Linked DNA regions of Homo sapiens: region 1 is linked to region 2. The links are contacts of gene promoters, found by promoter capture Hi-C in blood cells and fetal thymus (Javierre and others, 2016). All regions are on one chromosome and are shown on one strand. The core of a region is centred on a gene start or on the middle of the fragment in contact, and the rest is flanking DNA. Distances in the headings are between cores, read along the strand shown. Region 1 overlaps PHF12 (PHD finger protein 12). Region 2 holds the start of FAM222B (family with sequence similarity 222 member B).

Region 1 (6,220 bases), core at 1,653-4,152, 67 kb after region 2:
CTCAGCTTTGTGGCCACAGATCTCTGCTCCAACTTACTGATGACACTCTGCACTTTGGCAACAATACTGCTTGGGGGGGTTGGCGGGGTCTTCTCCGAGAAGTCACATGAATACAGCACATTGTCCACCGTTGTCCCATGCTCACTGTAGTTTAACAGCTCATAATGTTTGGTATTCTGAGGAGGAGGAGGGGAGATAAGATGTGTGGTCTGCTGTGTGGGGCCTGGGGCTAAGGGGAGAGAGGACATATGGAGAAGGCCGTGCTACTCTACCTAGAGAGTCCTTACTTGCCTCCCCAGTCATGGCCCCTGTCCTTTCAGAAGGGGGCTGGAGACACCTCCTCAGGGAAGCTTTCCTTCTGGTGTCCCACACTCCCTACTCTCCCACTCCTTCACTCTGCCCTCTCAGCACCGCTCCTCTTGGTATGATACTCACTGGCCCGTGATGATAATGAAATTCACAGGGACACACCCACAAGGCTTGGCTTCCTTCTATGCTGGTCCCCTCCCTTGCTTTAGGGTAGGCTCCCTCTGTTGTGCCTGTGACTAACCTCAGGAAAAATGGTAGCCCTGCTCCTGGGAAGCAGGTAGCTTCCCAGGTAGGATGCTATTTCACATCAAGACTCTCCTCCTCCAGGAATGACAGGGAGGGAAGAAAAAGAGAGGACCCCCAATCCCTCTTCCCTCCCCTCAGGGCACTGAACAAAAACCTACTGCCTGGGAGAGGCCTCAGGTTGGGAAAGCTCCCTCCCACCGCATCTCCGGCCCTCACCTCATCGTAGAATATGCAGGCATGTTTCCCGGACACGTAGTTACAGTGACCATAGTTTGTAAGGCACACATCCATGTCAGCTCCTGCAAGGTGGCAGGAGTAGAGGAAAAGGAAGGCAGAGAACAGATTGTAAGGTGCATGTGTCGGGGAGGTAAGACAGGGAGAGAGTTAGCTTCTGGGTTGGCACTAGCAGAGACTTCAAGGGTGAGTAGCTCAGGGCCCTCCCCTTTTATTTTTGAACAAAAACTGTTGTCTTTTCCAAGCTCCTGATAAAGAACAGCTGTCCCTGCCAGCTGATCTGCTTTAGAACATGTGGCTGCTACCCAGAAGGGAAGAGTGAGCTACTGAAGAGGATGGGATATTTCTATGAAAATACAACATCGGGGTGCAGAGCCTAGAAAATCTTATCACCTTAAAGAAAGGGAAGTTTCTAGGGTAAGGGCTAATCTGTCTGTCCTTCTGTACCAGATACAGAGCTATCGGTCTCTAGGACTTTTAGGGAAAACAAAACAAAACAAAAAACAGATACAGGGCTAACTGAAGATTGGGTATGTGTGAGTCTATCACTCTTTCAAAGACCACCAGGGACAAAGCATCTGCCTTCTCCTTAGGTTCTTCCCTGCAGTGTTTAAAGTGCCTCCCTGGGCAGTAGTCAGAGCTGACTTTCATCTCTGCTGTTGCAACACTGGGCAAAGACAAAGCAAAAGGGCCTGAACAAGGGAAGACAAGGAACTGATTGTCTCTTTTATTTTTGAGACAGGGTCTCACTCTGTTGCCTGGGCTGGAGTGCAGAGGCACAAAAAGGATCACTGCCTGGACCTCCCAGCCTCAGGTGATCTTCCCACCTCAGCCTCCCAAGTAGCTGGGACTATAGGCATGTTAGCCCAGCTAATTTTTTATATTTGTTTTTGGTAGAGATAGGGTTTCACCATGTTGCCCAGGCTGGTCTCGAAGTCCTGGGCTCAAGTGTTCCTCCTGCCTTGTCCTCCCAAAGTGTTGGGATTATAGGCGTGAGCCACCGTGACTGGCTGATTGTCTCTATTCTTAGTTTCTCTTGTCTAGCTATCCACTGATTTAAAGCAGTCAACTCTGGAAAGGGCTTCCCTCACCCCTTTCTAACTTCTGTGGGTAAGGGTGTCAGTCTTTAGGGCTGAACAGATTCAGTGTCTCTCCCAGCTTCCTGGCTGGCTCACCTGTCCCGATGTAGAGGGTTCGATAGCACATGTTCACAGCTCCTCCCAACCCTAAGAGGGGGTAGAACACAGCTCGGGCCTGTACCTCCTTTCTTTGCACTACAAGACAAACATAGGAATAGGATCATTCAGAAACTCAGATCCTGTGATCCAAACATAAACCAACAAAATCTGGACCTTTGGCTCATGGCCTGGAGAAAATCCCGCTGGATGACTCATCTTTCCAAACTCACATCCAACACTGAGCTGCGGCAGGGTAAGGCTTTCTCTCCCCACCCACAGCATTTCCAACACAGGGTACAGAGGACCATCTTTGAAGATGGTCAGAGAAGTCAGAGATGACAGTACTGTGTAAGTTCCTGGGCTCCTGGCTGGCTAATCCGGGATATTCCAGCTGGTACTATAGGGAGAATATGGAAAAACAGACGGCATGGACCAGTGTTTCTCAAACTTTAATGTGCATAAGAATCGCCTACAGATCTTGTTGAAATGCAGATTCTGATTCAATAGGTCTGAGGAGGGGCCTTAGCTCTGCATTTCTTTTGCTGTTTTCTTTAAAAATAGGCAAAAAACCAATGCATTGAGCTCTGCATTTCTAACAAGCTCTCAGGGGCTGCTGATGCTGCTGGTCTGCGAACCACACTTTGAAGCAGCAAGGCTCTTAATGGCCAATGCTCAGACATATCTGAAACAGAGTTAACCACTTGGGGAAAATTTCCAGAAGGTTGGCCTAGTGTTATTCTATTTCTCAACTTGAACTTGAAAAGTTCCCTCTTGGGAAGCCATTCTTTTTAAAATTTTATTTATTTATTTACTTATTTATTTGGAGACAGGGTCTCACTCTGTCACCCAGGCTGGAGTGCAGTGGCACAATCATAGCTCACTGCAGCCTTGACCTCCCAGACTCAAGCGATCCTCCCATCTTAGCCTTCCAAGCAGCTGGGATTACAGGTGTATGCCACCATGCCTGGGTAAGTTTAAAATTATTTGTAGAGATAGGGTCTCACTGTGTTGCCCAGGCTGGTCTCCAACTCCTGGGCTCAAGTGATCCTCCCGCCTCAGCCTCCCAAAGTGCTGGGATTACAGGTGTGAGCCACTGCACTCAGTCGGGAAGCCCTTCTAATTCAAATATTTGAAAGCAAGTAAGCAGAAAGTACACTACATATACCCAAAGGTACTGGTAGCTGCTTTGCTGTGTCTCGAAGTGGACTTATATATGAAAGAAAGTTACAGCAGACTTCCCCAAGTCTGATCAGAAAGCTGTGGTTGCCATCTTGTTCCTGCTCTCTTCAGAAAAAAACCATGGTGCTTTATTAAGCCCATGAAAAGCACACAAGGAGGTTTGAGATACTGGAAGCTCAGATTCTCCATGGAGGCAAGGTGACCATTCGCACACGTAGAGGGGAGATCTGATGATGTGGTGACAGGTGTGTACATGCGCACCTTCTATGTGGTGCCCTCCAGAAGCCAGCTGATGTGTCCCGACACTGCCCGGTGAAGGTTGGACCCGGGAGGGGAAAAGCTGATGTATTCTCTGCAAGGCCAGAAACTTGATCAGCTTCTCGTCCAGCATATTTATCTCGATTTCTATTAGCCAAAGAGAAAGATTAAAAAGCAGCTGAGATGGGAAGTGGAATGTGGAAGCAAATCAGGGTCACAGAGCAAATAGTTTGGCATTTCTAAAATCCAGCCAAGTGATTTTTACTCAAACAGCATTGAGTGCAGAGCGTACAAGGATCTGCAGCTGGGCATCTCACTTGCCATTTGCAGTGAGATGGGCCCCAATGCAGCCTGTGCAGCTGCCTCCTGTAGTTGGGTGGACTGATTTTAATTAAAGTGCCCCTAGAAAGGCAGAGTGGAATAAACCACTTGCCTGTCTGTGGGGGAGGGCCTGGATGTCTGATATTGAGACTTGAACTTTCTACCCACCTTGTGTTCACAGAGATCAAGATCTGTCCCTGTTCTCCTGGACTTTGGGGGTTTCCCACAGATGAGGTCCCTCCTTTGGGAGTGAGGATCTTAGTTTTATTCTGCAAATCCAGGTGATCTGCCTAAAGTGATTTTGTTCTCGTCTCACTGGTTCAGCTTGGCTCTGTCCTCCCTTCATCTTTGATTATGTGTATATGCACATGTAGAAGGCAGAGCTACAGAAGGAGCTTTCTTTTTCACCCCGCCCCCCCATCCAAAAGGATACTCCTCATTCCCATCTCCCCCTAGGCCTCTGGGATCAGGTGTCCCTTCCCTCCCTTTCTGAAATGAGCTGAATGCTGTATAGGAATAGCACCTTCAACATAGCAAACGGTGGAACAGCAGCAGCTCATTCACTCACCTCCATTGACATCCATAAATGCTCGAAGTGAGTTGGTGAGGTCCACCATGGCAGTAGAGTTGGCTGGGAAAGAGGGTACGGTTAAAGCGCTTCCTATGGATAACGTGCCGGGGCTGACCTTGCCATCTGGGGACGGAGCAGGAAGACTGTTACTTACGTCGCCTGAGGGAAACCCACCGTCCAATCCCCCACTGCTGAGACAGGTCTGGATTTCGGACCCAAGGTGATGTTCCCTTCTTGATTCTCAACCCATAGGCTCTGGAACTCCTAGAGCTAAAAACGTGTGGTGAGGAAGGGCAGATGGAACGACAAAGCACCCAGGCACGCAGGAGTCTCCAGAGCACTGAGAACCACTGAAATCCACTGCTCTGGGGAAAGTGGTGGGGCAGCTTCATTCTTTGGGCCATGACCACCTCCCTGCTGCCTCTACTTTAAAATAAGTAGTGCCTGCCCTTATAATTCTTGCCTACTGAAATATGACTCACGGCGTGGAGAATCTACCCACGCTGGTTTTAAGCGATAAACAGAGATAGGAAAACAGCCTGGGAGCGGGGCCATCCTGGGACCAGGGGCTCCCATGCAGAGAAATCACAATCATCTGGTTACCGAGACTCCCAGCTGACTAGGAGGCCGGCTTCAGTTCAGACGGGAGAGACCACAGAGGGTTCCGGCAGCATCTGAAACCTGGTTCAGATGCTGGGGTCAGCAACTTCAAGGTCCTGAGTGCTCTCTGGGGACAGCTGAGAGAGCAGGTCCACAGTAGGCCAAGTACAGACCTGAAGGACCGCCCTTTGGCATGTGGCCTGAGGGCACGCTTCTGGGCTAGAACAATCCCTGTGGGCATCCCACTCTACAGCTCCTCTGAAAGACAGTGCTGCTGTCTAGCCCTGCTTCCTGACATGGAAGTTCATCAGATTAACTCTTTCTGAGAATATGCATCAGGCATGAATCCATTCTTTTGTGTGGATCTGACAATACTGAGGCCATCACGCAGAACCTCAGGCTGATCATAGTAATTCCAGAGAGCACCCTGCCTTCTTTTAAGGTGACAGAACAAAACAGGCAGAGGCCTAGGCCTGGAAGGTATGGGATGGAGTCAGGAGACCTGGGCTGTGGTTCCAATCCTGCCACTGACTCAGTAGGTCATTTTAAGGAAATCACTGAAGCTTTCAGAGCCTAAGCAGTCCCATTTATAAACGGGACAAGTTAACATGTGCTTCCTCTTCTATTACGGAAATGAGAGTAAGACAAACAATACAAAGGCCAAAGTCCTCTGAAGTATTCACAGGGATATAAGTGCTTTTAGAATCTTATTTGCCAGAAAGAGCATAAAATTATTCCAAATCAACCCAAGGCTGAGCAGCACTCACCTGACGATGGCGCTGGTGAGCTGAATCGTTGGTTGGCTGTTGTGGCCAAGATACCATCTCCTGCTGCTTGCGGGGGAGTGAGCACCCGGGTGGCGTTTGGGGGTGAGCCCAGTGGCCTTGAATCTGTCAACGGAGGTCCTATCTGTGATTGGACAGTCTTTCTTTGCAAAGTGCTGGTGTTCTCGATGCTGGCACAAGAGCTGGGAATGGAAGGGGGCAGGCTTGGGACAGGAACCAAACTCCTCTGGGGGCAAGAGCTGGGGCCAGTGGCATTCTCTGTCTTCACAATGATGCCGACGGTGTGGTTCTGAAGGCCCCCAGCCGCTGGTGGCGTGAGGGGCCGGGGCCAGCCTTGCCGGTGTGAGAGGCCTGGTAGTGGGGTGTTAGCGCCTGGAAGTCGCCGGGGGTCCGTGGAATCAGTAGGGCTGCTGTAGAGGTGTGGGCCATTAGCTTTCACCTCTGTGTTCACTGGCCCATTGGCAGTCCCACAAGGGGTTTTCTTGGATTTTTCCGCACAAGAACTGCAGCCGATGTCCTCTAGGGCTGGGGACTGGTGG
Region 2 (6,441 bases), core at 3,845-6,344:
AGGGTGGAGTGCCATGGCATGAGCTCGGCTCATTACCACCTCCACCTCCTGGATTCAAGCGATTCTCCCGCCTCAGTCTCCTAAGTAACTGGGATTACAGGCGGGTGCCACCATGCCCAGCTAATCTTTGTATTTTTAGCAGAGACGGGGTTTCACTTTGTTTGCCAGGCTGGTCTTGAATTCCTGACCTCAAATGATCCACCCACCTCGGCCTCCCAAAGTGCTAGGATTACAGGAGTGAGCCAACATGTCCGACCAATAATTTTGTTTTTAAATAGAATGTTTTTAGGCCGGATGCAGTGGCTGACGCCTGTAATCCCAGCACTTTGGGAGGTAGAGGCGGGTGGAACATTTGAGGTCAGGAGTTCGAGACCAGACTGGCCAGCATGGTGAAACACCATTTCTACTAAAAATACAAAAATTATCCGGGCAGTAGTGCCATGCCTGTAATCCCAGCTACTCAGGAGGCTGAAGCAGGAGAACTGCTTGAAGCAGGAGAACTGCTTGAGCCAGGGAGGCAGAGGTTGCGCTGAGCCAAGATGGCGCCACTGCACTCCAGTCTGGGCGACAGAGTGAGACCCTGTCTCAAAAAAACAACAAATAGGCCGGGCGCGGTGGCTCACGCCTGTAATCCCAACACTTTGGGAGGCCGAGGTAGGCAGATCACAAGGTCAGGAGATCGAGACCATCCTGGCTAACACGGTGAAACCTCATCTCTACTAAAAATACAAAAAATTAGCCGGGCGTGGTGACGGGCACCTGTAGTCCCAGCTACTCAGGAGGCGGAGGCAGGAGAATGGCGTGAACCTTGGAGGCGGAGCTTATAGTGAGCCGAGATCGCGTCACTGCACTCCAGTCTGGGCGACAGAGACTCCATCTCAAAATAAATAAATAAATAAATAGAATTTAAAAACAAAAAAAAGATTTTTGGCTGGGCGCGGTGGCTCACACCTGCAATCCCAGCACTTTGGGAGGCCGAGGCAGGCGGATCACCTGAGGTCGGCAGTTCGAGACTAGCCTGGCCAACATGGTGAAACGTCATCTCTACTAAAAATACAAAAATCAGCCAGGTATGGTGGTACGCGCCTGTAATCCCAGCTACTCAGGAGGCTGAGACCAGAGAATCACTTGAACACAGGAGGCAGACGTTGCAATCAGCTGAGATCTCGCCATTGCACTCCAGCCTGGGCAACAGAGTGAAACTTGGTATCAAAAAAAATAAAATAAGGCCGGGCATGGTGGCTCATGCCTGTAATCCCAGCACTTTGGGAGGCTGAGTCGGGCAGATCACAAGGTCAGGAGATCGACACCATCCTGGCTAACACGGTGAAACCCCGTCTCTACTAAAAATATGAAAAGAAATTAGCCAGGCATGGTGGCGGGTGCCTGTAGTTCCAGCTACTAGGGAGGCTGAGGCAGGAGAATGGCGAGAACCCGGGAGGCGGAGCTTGCAGTGAGCCGAGATCGCGCCACTGCAATCCAGTCTGGGCAACAGAGCAGGACTCCGTCTCAAAAAATAATAATAATGATAATAATAAGCCAATAAATATTTATTTTAGCCCCTGGTATGTCAGAGATTCACAGGAAGTCCTTAAATCTCCAAAGTTCCTCTCCCACTTTAGAAAAACTTCTCACACGAAAGGCAATCAAGATACTAGCCCACCCCTTTTTCTTCCCCAGGGAAAGAAATCCTCATTTTGTAAGGTCATTTACTACATAAAAGTAACCACAAGTAGGAAAGATAACAGAAGGAGAGGAGGACAGGAAATTCTCATCACAGCTGAACAAACCTCTATTATTTTAACATAACATGGGTGGCATTTATGCGCTTATTTGAACTGATGGAAATTTCCAGTAGGGGGAAAAATGCATTACCAACATTAAAAATAAATGTCCAACTATTAAAAAATAAAATAAGATAGCTATGCCCAGCTTTAACATTTTATACTCTACTCCATGTAGTAGTCAAACATGGAATAAATTTCTGTAATGACCTATCACAATAGTAACAAATGCTTTATTTTTAAAACTATTATCTTAAACAAAGTATTATAGACAAATAATCTATTGGGACGGTCAAGGAACTAAAGTAAAAAGGTTAAAATTATACATCACTGTGCATTTCCAGGAAAGAAAAGTGAAACACATTTTACCAGACAGAGAAGTTAAAAACAACCAGGTTCATTTTTCCCATTCCTGTAAATTCACTCCCCTTATTTGTGAATCTTCAAGAATCTAGTATAGCCCCTCCCTACCTTTACTCAGGTAAAAGACCAATCACTCATCAATTGCCAAAACGCCTTGACAGTTTAAGGTCTCAATCCTCAGAGTCAGCAAAGCTGAAGTGTCTATGTCCTTTTAAAAGGAGTCTGCATCTCTACTTTAGAAACCATTTTCTCACTGCGCTTGGTGGCTTACGCCTGTGATCCCAGCACTTTGGGAGGCCGAGGCAGGCGGATCACCTGGTTCGAAACCAGCCTGACCAAAATGGCGAAACCCCATCTCTACTAAAAATACAAAAACTAGCCGGGCATGGTGGTGGGTGCCTGTAATCGCAACTACTTGGAGGCTGAGGCAGGAGAACTGCTTGAACCCGGGAGGTGGAGGTTGCAATGAGCCGAGATTGCGCTACTGCACTCCAGCCTGGGCGACAGAACAAGACTCTGTGTCAAAACAAAATAAAATAAAAAGAACCCATTTTCTCTTTCCATAAACACATAGTTTGTCCTCTGCTTTGTCTACATTAAAAAACACGTCTCAGGAGTGTTTCTTCAGCCTCTCAGGAAAACCAAGACACCTCTTGGGCTCCTCTTCTGAGATATTCCACCTGAGAGATCCCACTGACAAGCAGGGTAACAAAAAGCAGAGCTAGAGGGCTGCCTTATGCATATCTGACCTCCAAAACAGCGACAGGTCCCCGGAGCAGCCAGAGACTCCTTTGCAAAGGAGAACTTTTTATAATTTAAAAATAATAAAATGGGCCAAGCACGGTGGTTCACGCCTGTAATCCCAGCACTTTGGGAGGCTGGGGCGGGCGGATCACCTGAGGTCAGAAGTTTGAGACCAGCCTGTCCAGCAATGGAGAAACCCCGAGTGTACTAAAAAAAATACAAAAATTAGCCGGGTATGGTGGCACGTGCCTATAATCCCAGGTACTAGGGAGGCTGAGGCAGGAGAATTGCTTGAACCCAGGAGGCGGAGGTTGCAGTGAACCAAGTTCGCACCACTGCACTCCAGCCTGGGTGACAGAGCAAGACTCCTTCACCCACCTCAAAAAAAATTATAATAAAATAAAATAAAAATAAAGATAACAAAATAGCCAGGCACGGTGGCTCACGCCTGTAATCCCGGCACTTTGAGAGGCCGAGGTGGGTGGATCACCTGACGTGAGGAGTTCAAGACCAGCCTGGCCAACATGGTGAAACCCCATCTCTACTAAAACTACAAAAATTAGCCAGGCGTGGTGGTGGGCATTTGTAATCCCAGCTACTCAGGAGGCTGAGACAGGAGAATCGCTTGAACCCGGGAGGCGGAGGTTGCTGTGAGCCGAGATGATGCCACTGCACTCCTGCCTGGCGACAGAGCGAGACTCCGTCTCAAAAATAAAATAAAATATAATAAACAAATTATATTTTCACATCCCTCACTGGGCAGCCCTCCCAGCTTGTCTCAAACTAGTTTTCTTAACTCTTTTTTCCAGACGGAGTCTCGCACTGTCACCCGAACTGGAGTGCAATAGCACTATCTCGGCTCACCGCAACCTCTGCCTCCCGGGTTCGAGTGATTCCCCTGCCTCAGCTTCCCAAGCAGCTGGGATTACAGGCGCCCGCCACCACACCCGGCTGATTTTTTGTATTTTTAGTAGAGACGGGATTTCACTACGTTGGCTAGGCTGGTCTCCAACTTCTGACCTCGTGATCCGCCCGCCTCGGCCTCCCAAAGTGCTGGGATTACAGACATGAGCCACTGCACCCGGCCTTTTCTCAACTCGTTAAAGCACATTAGTGCCAACTGTGTTATAAGGCAACATGAGTTAGCTATGTTCAGAAAATATTTTAATAGATTGGCCCTCCATCCTTTCGGGTGAGGAGCTGCAAACCGTTTGTAAAAACGCCGGAGTACGGTATTTTTCCTACAGAAGTCTGATGGCTAATTTATCACATTACAGAACTGGTAGTTCTGCACATGGTCTGCTGTGCCCATAAAGAAAGCACATATGTGTCTACTGAGGTTTTACAAACAATACGCTTCTTATCTTAACAGAGAAATCAGTCATTCCATTAACAACGGTAAGGTCTAAATTCCACTAACATTGTTGGTGATACATTAACATCAACATAGTACTTACAATTCACAATTTGCATAAACAATCTCAATTACATAGGTGATGCTTGCAATAGCCCGTTTGAAGCATGACATCTTCCTGGTGTTCAGAAAGGTTAAGTGGGACCTGCCCAAGGTTACCTAACAGCTTTATCAATGGTGGACTTCCTTTCGAACCTGCCTGACTCTAAGCCCCTAGCTCTTTTCCCTAGACCCCTCCCGGCTTTCAAAAGAGGGTTCCCGACTCCCATCCTCTACCCAGAGCAGCCTATTACTCCGGGAGACCGACCCTTCCCCTGCCTGGTTCAGAGGTGGCTTCTTAAGCTCCAGCAGAGCTTTCATCCTCCACCACCCTCCCCCCGCAATCATTCTCTGAAAGAAGCGGAAAGGAGAGGCGACCAAAAGCTCCTGGAGGAAGGGATGATACAAATGGGCTGCTTCACTCCACAGCACGCAACCCCGTCCCCCTCCACCAAGCTGTCCAGCTCTGCGGCCGGCGACCGGGCCACCCGTGCCCCAAATTCTCCCATCATCACCTCAAACTGTACCTCCCCCACGCCCTTCCGTCTCCCACAGTCAGAGCCCACCCCACAAAGTCATGTATCCTTCCGCTAAGTTACCCTCTTCCCACGCGTTGTCCACTCCCCCTCCACCACTACTCACGGTCGGTGACTGGGCCCGGCCCTCATGGCTGCTCCTTTGCCGCCCGCCGCCCGCCGCCACCACTTCTCCACTGCCCGGCCCCTCAGTCACCGGCGCAGCTGTGGGGACTACCCGGAGCCGCTCCTGCGCCTGCGCAGCGTGTAGCGCCTGGGCCCTTTCGGGCCGCACGCGCCTGCGCAGCCCCTGCCGGGGGCGTCTTCCTCAGTGCCTGATGGTCTGGACCCCTGGGTCTCTAGTGGACATGGGAGCTGGCCTTGAAGAATTCTGAGGCTTAGAGAATTTGGCGGCTGCCTCAGGGTACGCCTCTGGAGTACCGTGCCTAGGTTACTAAACCCTTGGATCGCGCTTCCCCAAGGAGCCACAGACTTACTGGCTCTTCCAGAATTCTGCATCCTACTTGCACTTAAAGGCCTGAATTCAGGTGCTCTGAGGTGACCACTGATGATAAATTTGGGTCTTTTTTTTTTTTTTTCTGAGTCGAAGTTTCGCTCTTGTTGTCCAGGTTGGAGTGCAATGGCGTGATCTCGGCTCAAACAACCTCCGCCTCCCGGGTTCAAGCGATTCTCCTGCCTCAGCCTCCCGAGTAGCTGGGATTACAGGCATGCACCACCACGCCCAGCTAATTTTGTATTTTTAGTAGAGACGGGGTTTTATCATGTTGGTCAGGCTGGTCTCGAACTCCCGACCTCAGGTGATCCACCCACCTCAGCCTTCTAAAGCGCTGGGATTACAAGCATGAGCCACCGCGCCCAGCCTGGGTCTTTTTTTTTTTTTTTTTTTTTTGAGACGGAGTTTTGCTCTTGTTGCCCAGGCTGGAGTGCAGTGGCGCGATCTCAGCTCACTGCAACCTCCGCCTCCCGGGTTCAAACGATTCTCCTGCCTCAGCCTCCTGACTAGCTGGGATTACAGGCTTGCACCACCACGCCTGGCTAACTTTTGTATTTTTAGTAGAGACGGGGTTTCACCATGTTGGCCAGGCTGGTCTCGAACTCCTGACCTCAGATGATTCGCCCGCCCCGGCCTCCCAAAGTGCTGGGATTACAGGCCTGAGTCACCATGCCTGGTAAAATTTGGGTCTCTTTCAAGATGATCGTGTCTAGAATGTATCGGGGGTAATTATGTAAAGGCAGCTTTGCCATCCTAGAATACGCTACTAGCTAGGAGGTGCAATGAAGTCCTGGGGACCTTGTCAAGGAGGTGACCTCGCCTAGAATGCACTGGGGACACCGCTAAGTTCAGTATGTTTATCAAGCACATGCTGTTTATTGGACAGAAATGTTCTAGGCATCGCGTGTATGCTATTGAGGAATTCGCAGGCAAATAGTCCCCTGCTTTCCAGCTCTCACTGTGAGCCTGGCCCTTTTTCAAACTGGTAAAAGAAAACCACTAAAGTCCAGTGAGGCCCAACTGTCAGTCCCTAGACTACTGTGCTGCTTTGGCATAGCCTGACAAGAG

The links. The method cuts DNA at HindIII sites, captures the fragments that hold promoters and counts their contacts. A CHiCAGO score of 5 or more calls a contact.
Region 1: a contact is called between a fragment that was not itself captured here and the fragment with the promoter of FAM222B in region 2, in 5 of 17 cell types (erythroblasts, naive CD8 T cells, activated CD4 T cells and 2 more). The highest score is 9.6, in erythroblasts.

The regions. Positions count from the first base shown.
Region 1 is chr17:28,906,819-28,913,038 of GRCh38, forward strand. It overlaps PHF12 (PHD finger protein 12), which reads right to left. Exons shown (of 15, transcript NM_001033561.2): 9 at 5,664-6,220; 10 at 4,294-4,419; 11 at 3,408-3,551; 12 at 1,965-2,063; 13 at 772-854; 14 at 38-176. Among named protein-coding and RNA genes, the nearest start is that of DHRS13, 6.8 kb to the left of the region's middle. RefSeq lists a silencer at 1,913-2,207. The HindIII fragment of the contact is 5,109 bases long and covers 349-5,457 here.
Region 2 is chr17:28,837,696-28,844,136 of GRCh38, forward strand. FAM222B (family with sequence similarity 222 member B) reads right to left here and starts at 5,095. Exons shown (of 3, transcript NM_001077498.3): 1 at 4,987-5,095. RefSeq lists enhancers at 1-832, 4,674-5,188 and a silencer at 4,874-5,063. The HindIII fragment of the contact is 18,789 bases long and covers 1-6,441 here.